Regions from separate parts of the Homo sapiens genome. Here all the other regions are linked to region 3. The links are contacts of gene promoters, found by promoter capture Hi-C in blood cells and fetal thymus (Javierre and others, 2016). All regions are on one chromosome and are shown on one strand. Each heading gives the region's core, a stretch centred on a gene start or on the middle of the fragment in contact. The rest is flanking DNA. Distances are from core to core; before and after follow the strand shown. Region 1 holds the start of COPB2 (coat protein complex I subunit beta 2). Region 2 holds the start of FAIM (Fas apoptotic inhibitory molecule). Region 3 holds the start of ANAPC13 (anaphase promoting complex subunit 13). Region 4 overlaps ATP2C1 (ATPase secretory pathway Ca2+ transporting 1). Region 5 overlaps PIK3R4 (phosphoinositide-3-kinase regulatory subunit 4). Region 6 holds the start of ARMC8 (armadillo repeat containing 8). Region 7 overlaps DBR1 (debranching RNA lariats 1).

The links. Contacts are between HindIII fragments. The CHiCAGO score rates a contact against its expected background, and 5 or more counts as called.
Region 1: a contact is called between the fragment with the promoter of COPB2 here and the fragment with the promoter of ANAPC13 in region 3, in 6 of 17 cell types (total CD8 T cells, total B cells, total CD4 T cells and 3 more). The highest score is 11.1, in total CD8 T cells.
Region 2: a contact is called between the fragment with the promoter of FAIM here and the fragment with the promoter of ANAPC13 in region 3, in 4 of 17 cell types (naive CD8 T cells, total CD8 T cells, non-activated CD4 T cells and 1 more). The highest score is 9.3, in naive CD8 T cells.
Region 4: a fragment that was not itself captured here is called in contact with the fragment with the promoter of ANAPC13 in region 3 in 1 of 17 cell types (total B cells); the score reaches 6.1 in total B cells.
Region 5: a fragment that was not itself captured here is called in contact with the fragment with the promoter of ANAPC13 in region 3 in 2 of 17 cell types (total CD4 T cells and non-activated CD4 T cells); the score reaches 8.4 in total CD4 T cells.
Region 6: the fragment with the promoter of ARMC8 here is called in contact with the fragment with the promoter of ANAPC13 in region 3 in 2 of 17 cell types (total CD4 T cells and total CD8 T cells); the score reaches 6.3 in total CD4 T cells.
Region 7: a contact is called between a fragment that was not itself captured here and the fragment with the promoter of ANAPC13 in region 3, in 2 of 17 cell types (naive CD8 T cells and non-activated CD4 T cells). The highest score is 8.7, in naive CD8 T cells.

Annotation. Positions count from the first base shown.
Region 1 is chr3:139,388,204-139,390,903 of GRCh38, forward strand. COPB2 (coat protein complex I subunit beta 2) reads right to left here and starts at 1,444. Exons shown (of 22, transcript NM_004766.3): 1 at 1,345-1,444. The coding sequence starts at 1,347. COPB2-DT (COPB2 divergent transcript) reads left to right here and starts at 1,600. Exons shown (of 5, transcript NR_121609.1): 1 at 1,600-1,730. It also overlaps the pseudogene LOC124906339. RefSeq lists enhancers at 1,122-1,371, 1,168-1,729, 1,662-1,961, 1,730-2,292, 2,172-2,281. The HindIII fragment of the contact is 7,530 bases long and covers 1-2,700 here.
Region 2 is chr3:138,607,464-138,610,418 of GRCh38, forward strand. It overlaps FAIM (Fas apoptotic inhibitory molecule), which reads left to right and starts at 1,308. Exons shown (of 6, transcript NM_001033031.2): 1 at 1,308-1,474. RefSeq lists a silencer at 1,396-1,855 and an enhancer at 1,956-2,045. The HindIII fragment of the contact is 4,797 bases long and covers 1-2,889 here.
Region 3 is chr3:134,484,599-134,487,542 of GRCh38, forward strand. ANAPC13 (anaphase promoting complex subunit 13) reads right to left here and starts at 1,387. Exons shown (of 3, transcript NM_015391.4): 1 at 1,354-1,387. It overlaps CEP63 (centrosomal protein 63), which reads left to right and starts at 1,459. Exons shown (of 15, transcript NM_001353108.3): 1 at 1,459-1,604. RefSeq lists enhancers at 1,042-1,161, 1,192-1,291, 1,372-1,481, 1,573-2,391. The HindIII fragment of the contact is 3,493 bases long and covers 1-1,566 here.
Region 4 is chr3:130,899,122-130,902,120 of GRCh38, forward strand. All of the region lies in intron 2 of ATP2C1 (ATPase secretory pathway Ca2+ transporting 1), which reads left to right. Among named protein-coding and RNA genes, the nearest start is that of ATP2C1, 6.5 kb to the left of the region's middle. RefSeq lists an enhancer at 2,064-2,113. The HindIII fragment of the contact is 630 bases long and covers 1,270-1,899 here.
Region 5 is chr3:130,743,189-130,746,175 of GRCh38, forward strand. PIK3R4 (phosphoinositide-3-kinase regulatory subunit 4) reads right to left here. Exons shown (of 20, transcript NM_014602.3): 2 at 1,298-2,076. The coding sequence starts at 2,030. Among named protein-coding and RNA genes, the nearest start is that of PIK3R4, 2.1 kb to the right of the region's middle. The HindIII fragment of the contact is 1,807 bases long and covers 736-2,542 here.
Region 6 is chr3:138,185,913-138,188,748 of GRCh38, forward strand. ARMC8 (armadillo repeat containing 8) reads left to right here and starts at 1,389. Exons shown (of 22, transcript NM_001363941.2): 1 at 1,389-1,687. The coding sequence starts at 1,643. The HindIII fragment of the contact is 21,816 bases long and covers 1-2,836 here.
Region 7 is chr3:138,167,510-138,170,209 of GRCh38, forward strand. It overlaps DBR1 (debranching RNA lariats 1), which reads right to left. Exons shown (of 8, transcript NM_016216.4): 4 at 2,598-2,683. Among named protein-coding and RNA genes, the nearest start is that of DBR1, 6.1 kb to the right of the region's middle. The HindIII fragment of the contact is 4,308 bases long and covers 1-2,700 here.

The DNA.
Region 1 (2,700 bases), core at 194-2,693, 4.9 Mb after region 3:
AAGTGCTCTAATTAAGAGGCTTGAGGTCTTGTTCAGGGACTGTAACCTGGGTGCCCAAGAAAGTCCACGGATAGTGCTAGCTTCGGCAGCACATAGAGAGGAGATTAGCGTGGCCCCTGCGCAAGTATGACACGCAAATCCGTGAAGCGTTCCATATTTTTTATAAAACAAATTAAAAAAAAAAAGAAGGTCCATGGATTGTGGGGGGGGGTGTCTGTGAATGAATGCACTGAATTTTATGCAAAAATGTTTGTTTCTCTGTGCATTTTCCCTGGGAGTATTCCTAACTTTTTCCTAGTTCCAACTTTGCCACAATTAACCTTGTAGAAACATAATTTAAAAAAATTTTTTAACTTAAGATGAGGGACTTAATCCCTAGCGTCTTCAAGCTCCAAAATGTTTGATTCTGTGCTTCATAACAAGTTTTTTTTTTTTTTTTTTTGAGACGGAGTCTTGCTCTGTCCCAGGCTGGAGTGCAGTGGTGCGACCTCGGCTCACTGCAGCCTCTGCCTCCCGGGTTCAAGCGATTCTCCTGCCTCAGCCTCCTGAGTAGCTGGGACTACAGGGGCCCGCCACCACGCCCGGCTAATTTCTTTTTTTTTTTTTTGCATTTTCAATAGAGACGGAAGATATTCTTATACTATCGTTTTCTTTCCTTATTATTATAACACTCTTGTGCAAACTAGTCTAGGGCGTTTTTTAGGGTTACGGTGATAATAACAAAGTGCTCTAACAATTACTATTCTTACCAGCCACTGGATTTGCAAATGCATAAAAGCACACCAGCCAGTGTTATAAACAGCACCCCCTTCCTCCCAACCCTTCTTCTCCCCTTAGAAACCTAACAGCTGAGATATCAAAGCATTTGAAATTCCATTTTTGACTCCATATACATTTGTTTTTGGCTTCTTTGCTTGTTTATAGTTTGTAGCCAGCACACACTATCCCCAGAATAAGCCCAACAGGAGTGTAGATTAACTACCACCGTTTTAAAGGCAAACTTTAGTTTTACCAAAGCCTCCTACGGAGTTCAACACATTCGGCTTCTGTGTTTCCCTACACCACCGATCCCGCTGCAGACTGCAGGAGCTCTGGCAAGCGCCACAAGCGCCAGGGGAGACAAAACCCCTCACTAGCAGGCTTTGCCTCCCCAAATCACCCCGGTCCCCTAGGCCCCACCGCCTTCTCCCTTCCTGGAATCAAACGACCAAGACCCCGCAAGGCCTGAGGCGGCGGCCGCAGCGGGAGCCCAGACCACTGCTTACCGCGGCCCTCAGTCCAGAAGCTCCAGGAATCGGCCGTAACCTATGGGACCCCGCTCCCTTCTACGGGATCTGGACCTACCATGGCTGCGTCGGTCCAATCCCGGGAACCCTCGTTTGTTACCGGCTACTCAGGCCTTGAGATAAACCCACCGATCCACTGACCGTCAGACTGACTGACGTGGAACTTCCGGGAGCCGATTCTCGCGATAGTCAGAGGCCAGGGCCGGAGCGCCTGCGCAAACTGCGCGCAGGGCCGTCGTTTCCCAAGCCCCGCCCCAGTTTCCTAGGCAACGTGGCCTTCCAGACCGCTGGTAGTGGACTTGAGGCTGTCGGGAAGGAGGGGTGTGGCCTAGACCACTAAGGGCCGTGACGTGGTGCCGCTGAGCTTGGACCCCGACCAGAAGATAGAGATTGAAACGATGAGGAAAACGAAGTGCCTAATCCCCGCTGGACGCTAACTGCAGGGCAAGCTCCCCAGTGTTGTAGTTGTGTTTCGGAGGCCGAGAACCGCTATCGGGCTTCCTCGGACTCTGGCCCTGGAGGGGGGAAACGGCGAGGGAGAAGGCGAAACGAGTCTCCAGTGTGTTCTTGGGGCCTGGTGCGAGGCCCAGAGAATTCTCTGCAGGCCTTTGCCCGGGCACTGATTAAGGCTGCGAAGAGACGCACCGGGCTGCGGGCTTAGTAGCTTCAGGCTTCTGAAGTCAGAGGGAGGGCTGAGAGCTTACACTTCTGGAGCTCCCCGGGAGACGGCAACTACCCAACCGTGTGGGTGTGTTTGTGTATGTGTCTTTTGTTGAGCTTCGGCTGGCTGTGTTATTCATTCAACAAATATTTATCGATCTTCGGCAGTGTGTCAGACATACCTTCTTCTCAAATCTTCACATCAAACCTGAATTATCTCCATTTAATGATGAGGAAACTCGGGCTCAAAGAAGTTAAGTGTTCTAGCCAAGACTGCATAGTAAGTGGCAGATAAAACCTCAAAGTTGGGCCGGGCGCGGTGGCTCACGCCTGTAATCCCAGCACTTTGGGAGGCCGAAACGGGTGGATCACCTGAGGTCAGGAGTTCGAGACCAGCCTGGCCAACATGGTGAAACCCCGTCTCTATTAAAAATACAAAATTAGCCTGGCGTGGTGGCGGGCGCCTGTAATCCAAGCTGTTCCAGAGGCTGACAGGAGAATCGCTTAGAACCCAGGAGGTGGAGGTTGCAGTGAGCTGAGATCGCGCCACTGCACTCCAGCCTGGGCAACAGAGCAAGACTCTGTCTCAAAACAAAACACCTCAAAGTTTGTGCTCTTTCTACTACATAAAAATATCTCTTCATTAATGTGGCTGAATTCTAAGGGCCTGTGCCATAGGGGTTACACTACACAATAAAGTTCGAGAACATTTGCCTGTCACACGCACTGCACATCTCCTGTATTTCCTTTTTTT
Region 2 (2,955 bases), core at 58-2,557, 4.1 Mb after region 3:
ACCACGCCCGGCTAATTTTTGTATTTTTAGTAGAGCTAGGGTTTCACCACGTTGGCCAGGCTGGTCTCAAACTTCTGACCTCAGGCAATCCGCACCTGGCCTCCCAGAGTGCTGGGATTACAGGTGTAAGCCACTGTGCCCGGCTGTTTTTTTTTTTTTTTTTTTTTGAGACAGAGTCTTGCTCTTCGCCCAGGCTGGAGTGCAGTGGCTCAATCTCAGCTCACTCCAACCTCCACCTCCCAGGTTGAAGCGATTCTCCTGCCTCAGCCTCCCAAGTAGTTGGGACTACAGGCATGCACCACCACGCCCCTCTAAGTTTTATATTTTCAGTAGTGACGGGGTTTTGCCATGCCTGCCTCAGCATCCCAAAGTGCTGGGATTACAGGCGTGAGCCACTGAGCCCGGCTGTTTCTTTTTGTGTGTGTTTTTTTTAATGAAACAGGGTCTCGCTCTGTTGCCCAGGCTGGAGTGTAGTGGTGCAATCACAGCTCTCTGCAGCCTCTACCTCCCTTCAGGGCCCAAGCAATTCTCCCACCTCAGCGTCCCAAGTAGCTAGGATTACAGGCCTGAGCCGCTAATTATTTTCTTTTCTTCTTTCTCATTCTCTCTCTCTCTTTTTTTTTTTTTTTACCATGTTGCCCAGGCTGGTCTTGAACTCCTGGACTCAAGAGATCCGCCACTCTGCCTCCCAAAATGCCGTGATTACAGGTATGAGCCACCACACCCAGCAATGCTGCAAGTCTTATGGGCCAGGATAGTGTAATCTAAGAAATGATATATGAAGAACTCTCACAATAGGGAAGAGGTGAGGAGTGTCCAGGCAGAGAGAAGAGCATTTGCAGAGGCCCTGGGCGAGAAGAAACCTGCATCCTTTAAGGACCTAAATGAAGCCAAGCAGGCAGAGGCTAGATCACACATGGGGGCTTCATGCCCACCTTAAGTAGTTTGGGTCTTTAAAAAAGGAATGAGACTCATAAAGAGGTTTTAAGGAGCGAATGCTATTGCTGCCATGAACAGATATTCCTTCCCCATAGCTGCAGAGCAGGCACAGGGCTGTTTTTGCCCGCCAGTATGTCCCCACCGTCTAGCCCAGAGCGGGGCCAGCGGCCGGCTCCTACCCACACTTGCTGGCAGGAAGACTGGACGCACTGCGGGACATGGTGATGTCCTGGGTTGGGGCTGAGGAAGGCCTATGCGCGGAGGGTGCGGCCTTCGGCTAAGGCAGAGGACCAGGGTTGGGTCCGTGGCGGCGGGAGGGGTGGCCTCCTGCGCTGGTCGCCCCAGGGGACCTGAGAGGCGCGACAAACAGTCGGCGCGTTTGGTACTCGCGCCTGCAGAGCTTTCAACCTCCGCGCCGGCTGCGCCTGTTTCTCGGCCAGGGGAGCAAGGCCACGCGGCCTACGCAGCCGAGTCGGAACCAACCGGTTGTTTGGTGAAACCTACCCCAGAGCCTCCCGCGGCCCACAGAGCACAGGTGAGGCAGCAGACCGGGTGGGGTCGGTGTCGCGCCTGCGCCCGCCCGGACGCCTCGGGCCCGCCCGCTCCGCACCCTGGAAACCCCTGCACTCAGCCCCCCGGCGTCCCCACGCTCTCGGCCCTGCTGCGCCGGCGGCGGCCATCTCTGGGCGGCGGCGGCGGGCGGTGTTTGCGCGGTCGGTGAGACCCGCGCGGGTGAGACGCTGGGTGAGTTCCGGACGCTTCCAGCCGGCCCGCCGGTGATCCCAGACCTCGGGGCGGGACGCGGCTCCCGCTCACCGCCGGCAAAGGTGGAGGTGCGGCGGGGCGCGGGGCGCGGGGCCAGCCCGGGGCGGTGCGGGGGCGTCCCTGCCTAGCGAGGCCCTGCCCCGCGACCTGCCGCACCCTCCTCCGGCCTGTTCGCGACCTCTAAAGATAATACTTCTCACTGTCGAAAACGTGGAACAGAAAGCAAGGAAGCAAGCAAAGCAGCCGTGCCGCTGCTCCCCAGAGACAAGCTGCGTTAACATGAGGGTGTATATTCTTCCAGATGGTTTTTCCTTGTAACATGAGCGGGGCTTGTTTTTGCAGAACCTGCATCATAAAGTGCTGAAACTCTCTCTCTCTCTCTCTCTCTCTCTCTCTCTCTCTCTCTCTCGACTCTCTCTCTCTCGACTCTCTCTCTCTCTCTCTCGACTCTCTCTCTCTCTCTCTCTCTCTCTCGACTGTACATTCCTGTGTGTCAGGTTGACTACCTCATCCATCCCTGACTCTTGGCATGGCTTTGGACTGTGATTTACTAAATGTAGTTTCTCCCTGATGGTGAGCGTACAAGTGGTTTTCAGTTTTTAGTTATTGCAAAAAGTAATTCATTGAGCATCGTTGTATCTGGGTTTTTGAGCGTGATCATTTCTGTAGAAAGAATCGCACAAGATTCGTTCTAAAACAAGATAGAATCCACGGTCTATACCACAAGGCTTCTGGTATAGATTGTGAAATGGCCCTCAGAAAAGTTATTCTCCTTTTTGTACCTCCAGTAAGTAGCATTTGGGAATACTTGGCTCGAGGAGCTTCCTGAGTGATTTTACTGGAGACCCCCCTCACTTCATAAGGGGCCGGCCCGGAGATGAAGATGTCAACACTTGAGTGTGACTTGCATTATTGGCTGGCCCTACCTGGGGGCCTTTGCTGAAAAGGGAACCATGAGCATCTTAGTAACTACTATCATCTAGTAATTTTTAAACTGACTTCGGTTTATCTTGAACGAACCATTTCAGTCCCCAGTAAGAATAAACCTAAGTTAAGGCAAAATTCAGGTGGATTAGATGAACAGTGGCAACGTGTTGGTGTTTAAGTCATGCTCTGAAACTTAGGTGTTGGGTTGCTAGGGAAGGGATTTTAAAAGATTGATGGGTACGTATGAGATACGCAAAAAGCTTTCTTTAAAGACATGTAAAAAGTTTCAAGTGCTTGGTATCATCTCCATCAGTGAAAGTAAGT
Region 3 (2,944 bases), core at 137-2,636:
ACTCAATAATTAACCGAGTACTACCCAGTGGATAACTCAAAGCAAGACGAAGTTTTGGTTATACTTTTGAAGTCCCTGTCTTACAAGTGCTCCCCACTTTCCTGCTGCTACTCCTTTGTCCTTGCTGCTCTGTCTCCTGGGATACCCTTCTCACTTTCCTCAGCTGATCCAAACCTGACTTTCGGAGGCCCACGTAGATTTTCCACCTTTGTAAAGTTTTCTCAAATCACTCGAGCTTCAGTAGGCCTTCTATCCTTGAACTCTTGCTTCTTGTCCTAACTTAATCTACTAAACAAGCTAGGTCAGCTTTGTGGTCAATTGCTCAGGTATTATTGCCTCCAACTGTTACGTGTACATTTTGTACCCATGATTCCTTAGTAGATCTTTCCACATTTGGTCTCAATCTTTTTCACCTGTCCCTTCTCCAAACACCTCCAACCCTGTCACATTTTCCAGCCTTGACAGTTAAAACCCCCTTTTCCACATCACTAATGCCACTCTTCCTTTCAAGATAAACGCAGGCGTCAGCTCTTGAAGGTCAACATCCCATTTCCGGGATTAGGCGCGAAGGTGCCTTCCCTCATAAGGGGCTGGAAGGATGGGAAGCATCAAGATAATCAATGCCCAGGGCACACTGATTATCTTGTGTATTAAAGCCACCGTCCCAAGTACTCGTCACCCAGTACGACCACTGTTTCCTGAACAAACTTTTCTTACTCACGTGACAGTCCCGATGCCTGCAATGCTCTTTGTTTCTTCCTTTTTATTCCAGTGAACCCACAGTCAGTCTAAAAATCTTAGGTCCCAGGTCGCTTCCTATAGGAGGCCGCCTCCAAACCCCAGGCTGAGTGCGGTCCCGGTACCCACCCCTCCAGGGGTCTCACAGTTCCCTAAGCACAGAGCATGGCACCAACTGGGGAGTCTGTCAAACAGCCCAGATGAATGTCTTTCCAAACACGCGGTGCCTGCGTTTCCAGGGACAGGGACACGTCTTATCAATTTCTATATATTACAGCTTTGTAAACATAATATTTATAAAATCAAAGCGGGAAAGCCTTGTTCCTTGCTAGAAATGAGCCTCGCAGGCCACCACCATCCGCACCGTACGACAGGCCGTCCCTCAGCTGCGGCTTCCTGCCTCAGGCAGGATGTACCAAACGTGGAAGCGGAGACGGGGAGGTCTGGGGGTGCCACGCAAGTCCCTTTCCTCCCGACACGAGTGCAGTAAAGAAAAACGGTTATGAGCGTAAAGTGACAGCCTCGGCCGATGGGAATAGGGGGAAGTCCGACACTGAGCAACGAACGCATTCCCGCGCCTCCAAAACCTAGGCCGGGGGCGCTGGAAACCCTTACCGGCACCCGGCCACCGCGGCAGACGCTTGCTCCTGCCACGCCCCCCCCCCCTCCCCCGCATCACGTGTCTGCACTCGCTTTCCTCGGATTCCCGGATGTGGGTGAGTTCATTTGCTCGCGTGCAGGGGAAGTCTGGAGAAGGCATTGTTTCAATTATTAAAAGTGTGGGGGCAGTGGGCGGAACAAACGCGCCGACTACAGAGGCTGGACGTAAGCTTAGCGGTGGCGCGCGTGCGCAGCGCCGGCCCGAGGTAACGGCGGGAAGGCTCAGGGGCGTGCTTGCGGCAACCCTGTAACCGCCGGTGCGCAAGTTGGAGGGGCAAGGGGCTGCCGTGTCCTGGTCTGGAGGCGGCCCAGGCTGCCTTGGTGATTCTGGCTTCGCGGCCTCATGGCTTGCGGCCGGTTTGCGCAACGGCCTGCGAACCACCAGGCGCGTCCCCGCCGGCTTGGGTCCGCCCCGAAGCCCAGTCCCTCGGCCTGGCCCGCTATGCCCTGCACACTGGCGGAGTCTGGCGTGGCGCAGCCCGGCGTGGGGTTCGGCCCCGCCAGGTGGTCAGCCCTTCCTCGGAGTCCAGGTGGCTGGGGGCGCTTCGGAGAGTGGCCAGGTGGGCGAGCGAGCTGCGCCCAGTACTCACCTTCCCCGGCGGACCCACCTTCCTTTTCAGCGGAGAGACCCCAGTGCGGCCTCCCTGCCAGGGCTGCTGTCTAGCTAGCGCTGTTGGGACTACTTCATTCACGGCACAAGGGGACCCGCTCATTTAGTGTGGCATGTTAAGGTTGGCAGCTTTTAAAATAGTGAGTTGGTTTAAACGGTTATGTTAGTACAAGAGGTACGGAAATGTGGCATAAATCGTGGACTGAAATTGGAGAACCCTGAACTAACGGCTCCATGCACACAAATGAGGGATAGAAAGAAATAAGGACGGTTTCTTAGGAACACTTTAATCATGGAGATACTTGAAGACAGTACATTTAGGCTTATAATGTGGTTTTTCTTACGTCCCTTACGACATCAGGAGAGTAAAGATGAGTATGATGTCAGAGACAGGTCGTCTTTTACAGTTTCAGCACCGTACGCTGATATGCACAGAGTAGTTTTCCCTGAGCCTTATGTCTGGTTAAACTTATTAAAAGAATTTATTATTTTAATAAAGCAGTATTGTAGGGTAGATGCCCTGTATTTATACAGTTCCTCAAGTGCTTGCATTTATTTTTTAGATACGAGGAAATCATAAGGATCGTTGATTAGATTTCTGTTAGCTGTAGCTTAATGATAAAGTGTATATATTTTCTTATTTGGCATGCAGTACCATTTTTAGATTGATTTTTATTTTGAGTTTGCTTTTTGACTGTGGCATTATCAGTGATCAGGGTAGTAAAAAGCTCTGAAACTAAATTAGAGTAGAGATTTATAAACAGGCACACTGCCTTTTAAAATGTATGTAGATGCAAATCTAAAAGTTGTTTGTAAAAATTGTGTATGTTGATTGTACTGATGCCATTTCCTCTCGTTAAAATGGTGGAAGACCTTTGCTTAGTCCTTTCTGTTCTAATTTATGTTGTGCTGGCAGATGGTGACAGCATCAGTAGT
Region 4 (2,999 bases), core at 335-2,834, 3.6 Mb before region 3:
AAAGGCTAAATTGATAATTTCCTCTTGGATGTATATGACTGCTACTTATATGCATTTGTTAATACAGTTGACCCTTGAACAATGTGGGGGTTGGGGTGCTGACCCACCATGCAGTTGAAAATCTGCATGTAACTTTTAACTCTCTGAAAACTAAACTACTAATAGTCTCTACTGTTGCCTGGAAGCCTCACTGATAACATAAACAGTCAATTAACACATACTTTGTATGCTATATGTATTATATACTGTATTCTTGCAATAAAGTAGAGAAAAAAACTTACCAAGAAAATTATGAGGAGGAGAAAATATATTTATAATTCATTAAGCAGAAGTGGATCACTATAAAGGTCTTCATCCTCATTGTCTTCGCTTTGAGTAGGCTGAAGAAAAGGAGGGGTTGGTCTTGCTGTCTCGGGTGACAGAAGCAAATCTGAGTATAAGTAGACCTTTACAGTTGAAACTCATGTTGTTAAAGAGTCAACTGTGTATCTTCTGTCTTCAGGCTTTAAGTTGCTACGACAAAAGTATAAATCGTAGAATTACAAATAAATTACACCAATTGTGTTAAATTAGGTTGGTTTAGACTAAACCTGTGATGTGTTTAGAAAAAGTTTGAATGAAATGTTGAAAAGCTGTCCTAGATTATAGACAGAAGACAGTAATAGTCGGGGTCAGAAGCATTATCTTAAGATGGCCGTAACTGGGTGTCTGATTCAATTTCTATCTCTGCTTTTTTTAATTCTGCTATAGGTATTAGAGAATGTGTGAATTGGAATTATTTAATATACCTGTTAGTTGTAATTGCTTTCTTAAGTAAAGGCCTTTTGGTTTGACATTTGGTCATTTCGTAAACATGCTGACCTAAACTCGTGTCCCTCCCTCAGAAGGAAATACGTTAATTTAGTATGACATCCTTTTTTTTCCCTTTGTGCTTATTTATTTATTTATTTTTTTGAGATGGAGTCTCACTCTGTAACCCAGGCTGGGCTGGGACACAGTAGCATCATTATAGCTCACCAAAGCCCCTAACTCCTGGACTAATGCGATCTCCCTGCCTTAGCCTCCTGAGTAGCTGGGATTATAAGCACACATCACTATACCCAGCTAATTTCTTAATTTTTTTAAAGACGAGGTCTTGATATATTGCCCATGCTGGTCTTGAACTCCTGGACTCAAGCAGTCTTATTGCCTTGGCCTCCCAAATTGTTGGAATTATAGGCATGAGCCACCGTGCCCAGCTTTAGTATGACATTCTTTATTCTTTTAGAAAGCTTTGAGATATTGATGCATCCTTATAGAAATTACTTTCATTTATTTATTTACTTACTTAAAACAGCTTGATAAAGTTGGAAAAAGCAGGACCCTAAATAATAAATATATTTGCCATCAGCCTTTTATAGGAAAACTCAGAAATAATAAGTGGAAATATTTAGGATGTCACTCATCAGACTTTTTTTTTGAATATGTAAATGTGTTTTTTTGAAAATTTAAACACGCAAAGTAAAAATTAAAAGTTTTGGTTAAGTTGTGAATTTCAGAAATTTATCTTGGTTATGGTGTCCTGAAGTTAAAAAGAATAGAGCATTAGTACATTAGTACATAAACGTTCTGTTATTCTCTGCCTAAGGGCAAGATCCAACTTTGAACCAGGTCCTGGATTTCCTCTCATCTTAAATCGGAGCCTTTTTCATTTGTAGTATAAATAAATTAGCCTTTTGATGCTGTGATTTTATTTGTATATGTTATATATGAGATTTATATCTCTCTTTGTATGCAGGCATTTCACTAGATTTTGTTTGGCCATCTATTTTTAGTGTTTCCCTAGCAGCATGTTTGCTTTACCTGCCTTCATCTAGGTTTCTACATCATCAGGGGTGGAAATATTAGTTGGCTTAATTAAGCTTGGGAGTTGTACCTTACTTGCTCTGTTGAGTGTCAGTTCTACCTTCTTTTGAAGCAGGCAAAAGCAGTTCATGGCACAAATGCCAGAAATAGCATGCAAACCACTTTGTAGTGGTATGCAAACTAATTTCTGCTGTGTCCTTTTCTTAATGCTTGTGAGGGTTACTGTTTACTTAAGAGTTAATATTTGGCTTATGAAACTAGTATCAGATGAGAAATTCCAGCATCCCTCCCCACCCCAGAGAAAGATGTGGTCATTGGGGACTGCTCTGAAGTCTGCCAGCCCTCTATCCTAAAAGTTGGTAGATCAGTTATTATATCTTGATATGTACCCCTAATTCATATGAGGGGCCAAGAGAGATTAGTTACTCCTGATTTCATCTGTTAGAAGATAAAGGGAGTGTGGTTTGTATCTATATTAGAGTAATGGGAATGAAGGGTAGGGATGGATGACAGAGATATTTTACTCCTAGGAAAAATCAGCAGGACTTGGACAGTGACTAGATACAGAGAATTAAGGGAATAGTTGAATCAGACATGACTGCAAGATGTCATTTGGGTCAGTGAAGGTGCCATTGATTGTGGTTGAAGGAGTGAGCCGATTTAGGGGCTGGCTGAAGGGAATATATAGGTCAGACTGTCATGATGTGAGGCTCATATAGCTATGCATGGAGAGAGGTGTTAAATCAAGCACCAGGATTCAAAGTGAGCTCTTGAAGGCAGAGACCTCAATTTGTCCTTTATTCATCTTGAACAGACTCTGGGACGTACCTACTGTCAATTGAATGAAAATGCTGGCTTCTTCCTTCTAAGTGGTTCTCATCTCAGGATTGTTTTGCCCCCGGGGGACATTTGGCAATGTTTAGAGAAATGCTGGGTTGTCACAACTCAAAGTATGCTACTGGCATCCAGTGTGTAGAGACCAGGGATGCTGGTAAGCATGCTACAATCCGTAAGACAGCATCTTCTACCTCCCCCCGCCACCCTCAAAATTTTTTAGCCCCAGATGTCAATGGTGCCAAGATTGAGAAACACTGTTCTAACAAACGGCAAGGAAGTTGACTCCTCTAAGCCTTGGTTTCCTCACTTGTAAAGAG
Region 5 (2,987 bases), core at 389-2,888, 3.7 Mb before region 3:
CAGCTTGAGCTCAGGCGTTCAGGAACATTCTGGGCAACACAGTAAAATAGTCTCTACCAAAAATGTTAAAAAAAAAAAAAGTCAACTGGGTGTGGTGGTGCACGCCTGCAGTCCCGGCTACACAAAGAAAGCTGAGGCAAGAGGATCATTGGAGTTGGAGGCTGAAGTGAGCTACAATTGCACCACTGGGCACCAACCTAGGCAACAATGTGAGATCCTACCTCTAAAAAATAATAATAAATTAAAAATAAATAAAAATATAACCAAATACATGTTGTACATCTTCTCCTGCATACTTGGCAGAAATCTCAAACTTACCATATCTTAAACAGACCTCATCATCTTCCCAACCTAACCTGTTGCTCCTCCTGTGTCTCCCTGTCTCAGGGACCAGCATCACCATCCACTCAGTTTGGTGGGCGAGAGAAGTTCCTGTGACTTCACCTTCCAATGACAGAATCCTAACAATTCTATCTACTAATTATCTCTTAAGCATTACCACTTCTCTCCACTCCTTCCAACTCTGCCACAATCTTAAGCCGGTCACAATCATCTTACCTGGACTGTGGCAGTTTTCTCCTAACTTGTTTTCCTGTCTTCTGTGTAGCTCCCCTGCAAAATTCACTCTCCATGCTCCAGTCAGGCCAGACCCTTTCTGATCTGGCTGAGTTTGGGCCTTGCTTAATTCACACTGTGTTCCAGAAAACACATCAGTGCATCATATTCTGGTCTTTAAGCTTCTGTATAGGCAACATCCTCTGCCTGAAACAAACTACTCTACGAAAGTTAACTCCCAATCAACTTTCAGGTTTCAATGTAAATATCATCTTTCTATTAAAGAGGCCTTTCTTGATCCCACCTCTTGACTCAACACCACCATGAGGACTAATTTAAATATCTATGTGTTCCTATAGCAGCACCCTATGCTTATCACCACCACAGCAATCAACACCGCATTGAAATGTCCTTTTGCAATATCCACGGTCACTTTAAAATGGAAGCATTATGAAAATATATTATCCACCAATATCCCTAGCACTTAGGACAGTGCCTGACACATACAATAAAAGTAGGCAAGCAAATATGTTTATATGTTTGTGTAAATAAACTGCTGTTTGCATTTCCTAGGCATTTAAACATATCCAATGCAGGAATGCTGCCTCTAACTGAAATAGCGTCTGAGGACAAACCAAGACATTAACTTTTCAATATCTGGTGACTAAAAAAAGCCACATTTCTGTTTAACAGTTAAAAGAAAAACACATGCTCCCTTAGCAAATGTGACCCACTCAAATACCTGCTGAAAAGATGTCCATTGCTCTCTTCAACTCTCCTCTTGTTCTCTGATTGCTATTTAAGTCTACAAGCGGAGTTGAAGGATCTCTCATATATTCTAACTCAGTGGCAAACATCCCACCATCAACAAAACGTTCAGGAGCAATATAGCAAGTTCTCCTCCGTGATGTGTCAAAGAAATAATTGAAATCTGCCGGGTTGTCTTCTGGAAGATAAGTGGGCTTAAAACTGGCAAAATCAGTTAGAAGAACCCAATTCCAACTGGTGACCATCACATTCTCAGTCTTGATGTCCCCATGACGAACTCCAGATTTGTGTGCTTGGTCCACAGCTGTCAGGATCTGGAAAGCAATCCAGCGCTTCTCAATGTTATTCAAGAATGGACGGGTACTGATGCGATCATAGAGATTGTCTCGCACATACTGCCTAAAGAGCATAGCTGCTTTCTCAGATGCTTTTTCTGATGCTTTCTGGAAAGGTAGACAATTCTGTGCAGAATTAAGCCTGATTTTCAGTTCCTCCAGCTCTTGTTTATAGCTGGTTAAAGGCAATGTGGGATCCTGAATTGCAAAAACCTTCACAACGACCAGGCCTTCTCGGTGCTTGGCTCGAGCAACTTTAAAAAACCGAGTACTCCCCAGGCTTTTATCATATTCAAAGTCATGAATATCTGAAAAATAACTCTCTACAGAAAGGATCTGGGAGGGAGCAATGCCAGCAAGCTGATTTCCCATAATGGCAAGCACCTCTGTGGTCTTTAGTAAGGTTAGGATATAATACCTGTTTAAAATAAAAACAAATGAAGAAAAAAGACAAGAAACAAAGAAGCTGTGAAACACCATTATTCCATTATTTGGTCTCTTCCAAAAAGACAGATGCAGCATACTTCTCTTCCACTAACAGCACTGTACCTAGCCTTCTGGGGCAGCCTCTAAATTTCACACACATTTATCTAAAAAGACCATGTTATTTTCTCCAAGAAGACCTTGTTATTTTACCTAAAAATACCCTGCTATTGCGCATCGCCATTTCCAGGAGCTGAACTATATTTAGATAGGCCTCTTCAACTTTAAGCCAAAAATGTTAGTTTGTGTTATTTTCTCATATTTAAATTTAAAATATTAATGAGCCTTTACTATGTGTTCCGTGCTGTGCTTGGGGCTATGAGAATTACAAAGTTACCATATGACATAGTTCTTGTCCAAGAATCTGTAGTTTCTTGGAAATAAGAAAGAGACACATTAAAAGCTTAAAACTGGCCGGGCGCGGTGGCTCACGCCTGTAATCCCAGCACTTCGGGAGGCCGAGGCGGGAGGATCACGAGGTCAGGAGCTCAAGACGGGGCTGGCCAACATGGTTAAAATCCCGTCTCTACTAAAAATACAAAAATTAGCCGGGCGTGGTAGTGGGTGCCTGTAATCCCAGCTACTCGTGAGGCTGACGCAGAATTGCTTGAACCCAGGACGCAGAGGTTGCAGTGAGTGGAGATCCCGCCACCGCACTCCAGCCTGGGTGACAGAGCGAGACTCCGTCCGTCTCAAAAAATAAAAAAAAAAAAAGAAAAACTGAAAACTGAAAAGGTCAAACTAAGATCTAAAAATTCAGTTAACTCCTGGACACTTCCTGCCTAATTCCAGTGTGCCCTCTCACCCAGCTAAAAGAAGGTGCAAACTTCGCTGGTCTGCAACAAG
Region 6 (2,836 bases), core at 139-2,638, 3.7 Mb after region 3:
ATACTATGTATTAGGGTTATGTTCTGCCCCATTGCAGTATGCAGTACATGATGTGATTTTAGGTGGTCCATGGATGGACATTTAAACTTTTTGTAGTTAATGTGTACTAGAATAAAAATAAGGAGCACAACAAACTTGATTTCACAGAGTATTATGGTTTAGGATAAAGCCAAAAATTTTTAATGAGTTGAAATTGGCTTTAAATAAAAATATTGAATGAATAATAATACCTAGGTGCAGATTGGCAAAGATTGTGTAGGTGGTGTACAGATTACCCAAGTTTCAGAAATAGTATTATAGCAGAAGGACTACCTAAAATAAAATTCCTGCCTTCCAGGAATTCAACAGTTTGTTAAGGAACACAGACCCATAAGCAGGGGTGGTAAATGCTACACTAAATTTGGAAACCAAGTACAGGAGGAAGACAGGAAAACAGTGAGGAGCAGAGTGCGGGAGAGGCTACCAGCTACAAGACCAGTTGGAAGGCTATTGCTGTAGTCCAGGGGAGAGGTTACAAGAGCCTGAATTAGGGTGTGGCTATAGAAATGGAAGGAATACAAGTAATGTTAACAGGCCAATTGCAACCATACTGTGAAAACCTTACTGGTTGCAAGCAGTACGAAGGTGAAACTTATCCAACCAAGTCAAGGGCAGTGTTGCACACACACACACACACACACACAAAGTAGTAGGACAGCTGAATTAATCAAGTATAATTGAAAGCATACTTTTATTTAGCTTCGGTTATGAGAGTGTTTTAGTGCGAAATATTTAGATATTTGCCCCCATTTTCCCCACTTAACTCAGAAGCTGGAGAAATGTTAACACATATTGTATAACGCTTTCTATGTTCTAGGTTTTTTCTGAGAGCTTCACGTTTGTTGACTCCTCTATCCTCATTAACCTTTATTTTATAGATGAGGAAACTCAAACAGAAGGTTAGATAACTTGCCCAGGGTAAAGCAGCTGATAAATCAAGTAGCTAGGAAGAAACCCAAGCATTCTGGCTATTCTTAACACTACACCAGAATAAACGGGGCCGGCACACAACGCTAAGGCAAGTCACGTATCTGTATCGGATCGTGAAACAATCACTCTTACGGTTGGCAAAGGTTCTGGGATCGCAATTTCCCCACCTATAAAATGGAGATAACGACGCCGGGAGTTTGGTGCAGAGAGAGAGAATGAATATGAAAGTGAACTTCAAACTATGTATGTGGCTCCACGTACTACTTTTTCCAAATATGAATACTGGAATCCATAAACTGCAATTTATCAGTCCGTAAAACTCGTAGCGTCAGGGCGAGACTCCGCCTCTGGGGCCCCGCCCACCGCGAGCGGCAGGTGGGGCCGGCAGATCTTCTTTGCGCATGCGGAAACCGCTGCCCGCTTCCACCTCTAACCCAGGCTCAGAGTAGCTGCTGTTTCTGAGAGAACGATTCGTAGGACAGCCCCTGACGCCATTCCCTTTTGCCCTTCTTTCTGCGGGCCTTTCCGGTACTTGAGCGGTGTCCAGAGCGTGGCCAGTTCTCGTCTATCTGGCTGCCTTTAGGGAGCGGTGCCTAGCGTTGGCCAATAGTTGGCTGTCGAAAGTGCCGGCCCCCGCGCCGGCGCCTGCAGCAGCCGGGTGGGAAGGCTCAAGATGGCGTGCTTGTTGGAGACCCCAATCCGCATGAGCGTCCTTTCGGTGAGTGACCCGCCGCGGCCGCCCGCCCGCCCTCCAGGAAGCCTCATCCCGGTCTCCACCATTCCCCCAAGCGTGGTGTGCCTCCTGGGCACCACCCCCTGGGGTGGACCCCGGCTCAGTCTCGGGCCAGGGAGTGAGCGAGGGTGGAGAGGCGGGATAGACGGGCAGAGGGGACCGCGGCCGAGCCAAAGACGTTTCCAACTCCGGGAGCTCCCGCCGGTGCGGGTTCCCAGGATGGCGTCTGGCAGGCGGGGTGGCTGGGCTTATAGACAACTGGCTGGGCGGCGCGGCTTGGACTTTGCCAAGCGTTTCACTGAGCCTTCCTTTTAGCGATGCCGCTTCCCGGGGGCCGAACGCTCTGCCTTGTGAAGCGCCGGGCTTGCAGCCGGCCTGAGAACGAGCGCCCACTCAGCTCTCCCGGGCTTTGGCAAGAAGAGGTGCAGGCTCCTTGGCCCCCATTTCCTCAGAGCTGCCAGGCCAAGTCTGTGCGGCTTCTATCGCGTCCCAGCACCTGGGCACCGGCTGAAGCAGTTTGCTTTTTGGCAATGGTGATTCGTATCAGCTGCAACTCTTCCTAGTGTGTGTGGTTTTTTAAGCCCCTTTCCTCCGCTCTGCTCAGAGGTCGCGGCTCTGAGTCAGAGGAACTCTATGTTCCCTGTGCCTGGTATTCCGTTTTTCTTTAAGGGGAGTCAAACATTGAAGGGGGGAAAAGGGGGTGAGATTTATTTCCCCATTGTTGAAAGAAGGGAACGTATTGACATGCCAGGAAGTAAAACCTGTTTTTTTTTTTTTTAAAAAAAGTTTTTTTAAAGAAAAAGACGACTTTCACCTTTCACTATGTTGCTCTTGAACCAGGACCAGGAATGAAAGTTACTGGGAGATAACTTCGAAGGATTTTGCAACAAATTCGAGCTGTCCGACTCTGAGAATGGTCAGTTTACCAATGGTTCATTTGCTATTGTTGGAAACAAGCAGGCAAATACTGATTGACCATCTTTTAGACTTGTGGAAGCCAGTCTGATACTGAGAGGGTAGTTGGATTATAAATGACTTGTCGGGTTCCTAGAGTCTTGTAACTACAACCGGTTTCTTTTCTCTTCTCTGACTTGTCCCACAAACAAACTCACCTATCTGAAAACACCTAGGACA
Region 7 (2,700 bases), core at 56-2,555, 3.7 Mb after region 3:
TGCTCATAAATCATTCTTATTTTCAGTGGCAAGGCAAGGCAATGGAGACAGACTCTGATTAGACTGCCAGTCATCTAAGATCTTTAGCACTTAGCTTCTAAAATACACGATAACCATAGTTCTTTTCCTCTTTGGTAAAGAAATTATTATTTTGGGCCGGGCGCGGTGGCTCACGCCTATAATCCCAGCACTTTGGGAGGCTGAGGCAGGTGGATCACCTGAGGTTAGGAGTTCGAAACGAGCCTCACCAACATGGTGAAACCCCATCTCTACTAAAAATACAAAAATTTAGCTGGACGTTGTGGCATCTGTCTGTAATCCCAGCTACTAGGGAGACTGAGGCAGGAGAATCGCTTGAACCCAGGAGGTGGAGGTTGCAATAAGCCGAGATCATGCAATTGCACTCCAGCCTGGGCCACAAGAGTGAAACTCCATCTCAAAAAGAAAAAAAAGAAAAAAGAAATTACTGTTTTGAAGATCCAGAGACACTAGATTTCACGAGACCTCTAACATGACTGATTCAGTAAACCCAAAGATTTACCAGGAAAAAAAAAATTCTAATAGGCTCACATAGTATACACTAAAAAACTGTGTTTACTACATAAATTAGTATTTCATTAAACAACTTAAGGAAACAAAATATACTCCAGACTTTACTTATCCCCAGAACCTTCAAGTAATCTGAAACGAATACTTGAAAAATGAAATTAAAACAACTTAAATACCGGCTGGGCACAGTGGCTCACGCCTGTAATCCCAGCACTTTAGGAGGCCGAGGTGGGTGGATCGCCTGAAGGTCAGGAGTTCGAGACCAGCCTGGCCAACATGGTGAAACCCCATCTTTATTTAAAATACAAAAAATTAGCCGGGCGTGGTGGTGGGCGCCTGTAATCCCAGCTACTCAGGAGGCTGAGGCAGGAGAATCGCTTGAACCCAGGAGGCAGAGGTTGCAGTGAGCCAAGATCGCACTGTTGCACTCCAGCTTGGGCAACAGAAGTGAAACTTTGTCTCAAAAAAAAAAAAAAAAACTTAAATAACTGCTCAAGACAATACAAAATATTAGATATTAGATAGATATGACTAACCACTGAATAACTGGTATGGCCAACAGATGCAACAAAAATTCAAACTAGGGTAATGACTCTAAACTAGAGAAGTCATGGCTGGCTGGGCATGGTGGCTCATGCCTGTAATCCCAGCACTTTCGGAGGCCAAGGCAGAAGGATCGCTTGAGTTCAAGAGTTTGAGACCAGCCTGGGCAACATGGCGAAACTCTGTCTCTAAAAAATATGAAAAAAATTAGCTGGGCGAGGTGATGCATGCCTATAGTCCAAGCTATTCGGGAGGCTGAAGTGGGAGGATCACCCAAGCCTGGCAGATTGAGGCTGCAGTGAGTCAAGCCATGATCATACTACTGCACTCCAGCCTGGGTGACAGAGTGAGACCTTGTCTCAAAAAAAAAAAAGAAGAAAACTCATGGTTGGGAAATGGCATCTAAGTTGGGTCTTAAAGGACTGGTAGGATTTAGATAGGTGAAAGAGAAAATCTATTTAAGGGAACTGTATGCACAGGGCATAAAAGAAACACTTGCAAGAATTGTTAGACTCCTGCAGAGGCTCTAGAGACAGTGTGATGGGCATGAGTGCAGTCAGGCAGGCTCTACCACTAAACTTTGGGAAGTCCTGGGCAGGTTACTTACCTGTCTGAGCCTTGGCTTCTCATCCTTAAAGGGATGAAGTTAAGAGTTACATCTATTTCATAGGGTTTGAGTGGAGATTATATGAAATACCAAGTGTGAAGTCTGTTTAGCCCAGTGTCAGCCATGTAATGGGTTCTCAAACAACCTAGTTTCACCTACTCTGCAATTAAGCAGTGTTTCCATACCACCTTCACAATTTTCCCATTTCCTCTATCATCTTTACTATTACTTATTTTCTATTTAATACCATTACTTAATTACTATTACATAAAATAAAATGTTTATTTCAATATTTTCTTTAAAATATCACTTTAACATTTTATTTTAAATATCACTTTAATAGGTATTCTTTAGCCTTAACCTAAGTAATATTTGAAATCATGAATTAAATCTTTCATTCTTACTAAAATAAACTCGTAATTATTGAAGTAAAAAAAATTTTGCCGGGCACAGTGGCTCACACCTATAATCCCAGCACTTTGGGAGGCCAAGGCAGGCGGATCACCTGAGGTCAGGAATTTGAGACCAGCCTGGCAAACATGGTGAAACCCCATCCCTACTACAAATACAAAAAATTAGGCAGGTGTGGTGGTGTGCGCCCATAGTTCCAGCTACTCAGAAGGTTGAGGCACAAGACTTGCTTGAACCCAGGAGGCGGAGGTTGCAGTGAGCCGAGATCGCGCCACTGCACTTCAGCCTGGGTGACATAGTGAGACTCTGTCTCAAAAAAAGAAAAAAAAAAGGTTCATCTGTGAACCTCCTAAAAACTCAAGATCCACATTTTAAAAATACAGAATTGCTCTTCTTGAAAGTAGTATACCAATATGACCAAAATACATTTTGGCACAGAATTACTTTAAAATGTTTTCAAGTCTGCTGTAATGCGCTTTTTACGTACCTGTTTTAATTTATAGACTTCAATATTTCTCACATGATATATACTCCTGATTGTAGATGAATTATAAGGGGGGCACTCAAAATGACCTTAGATTGAAGCAGAA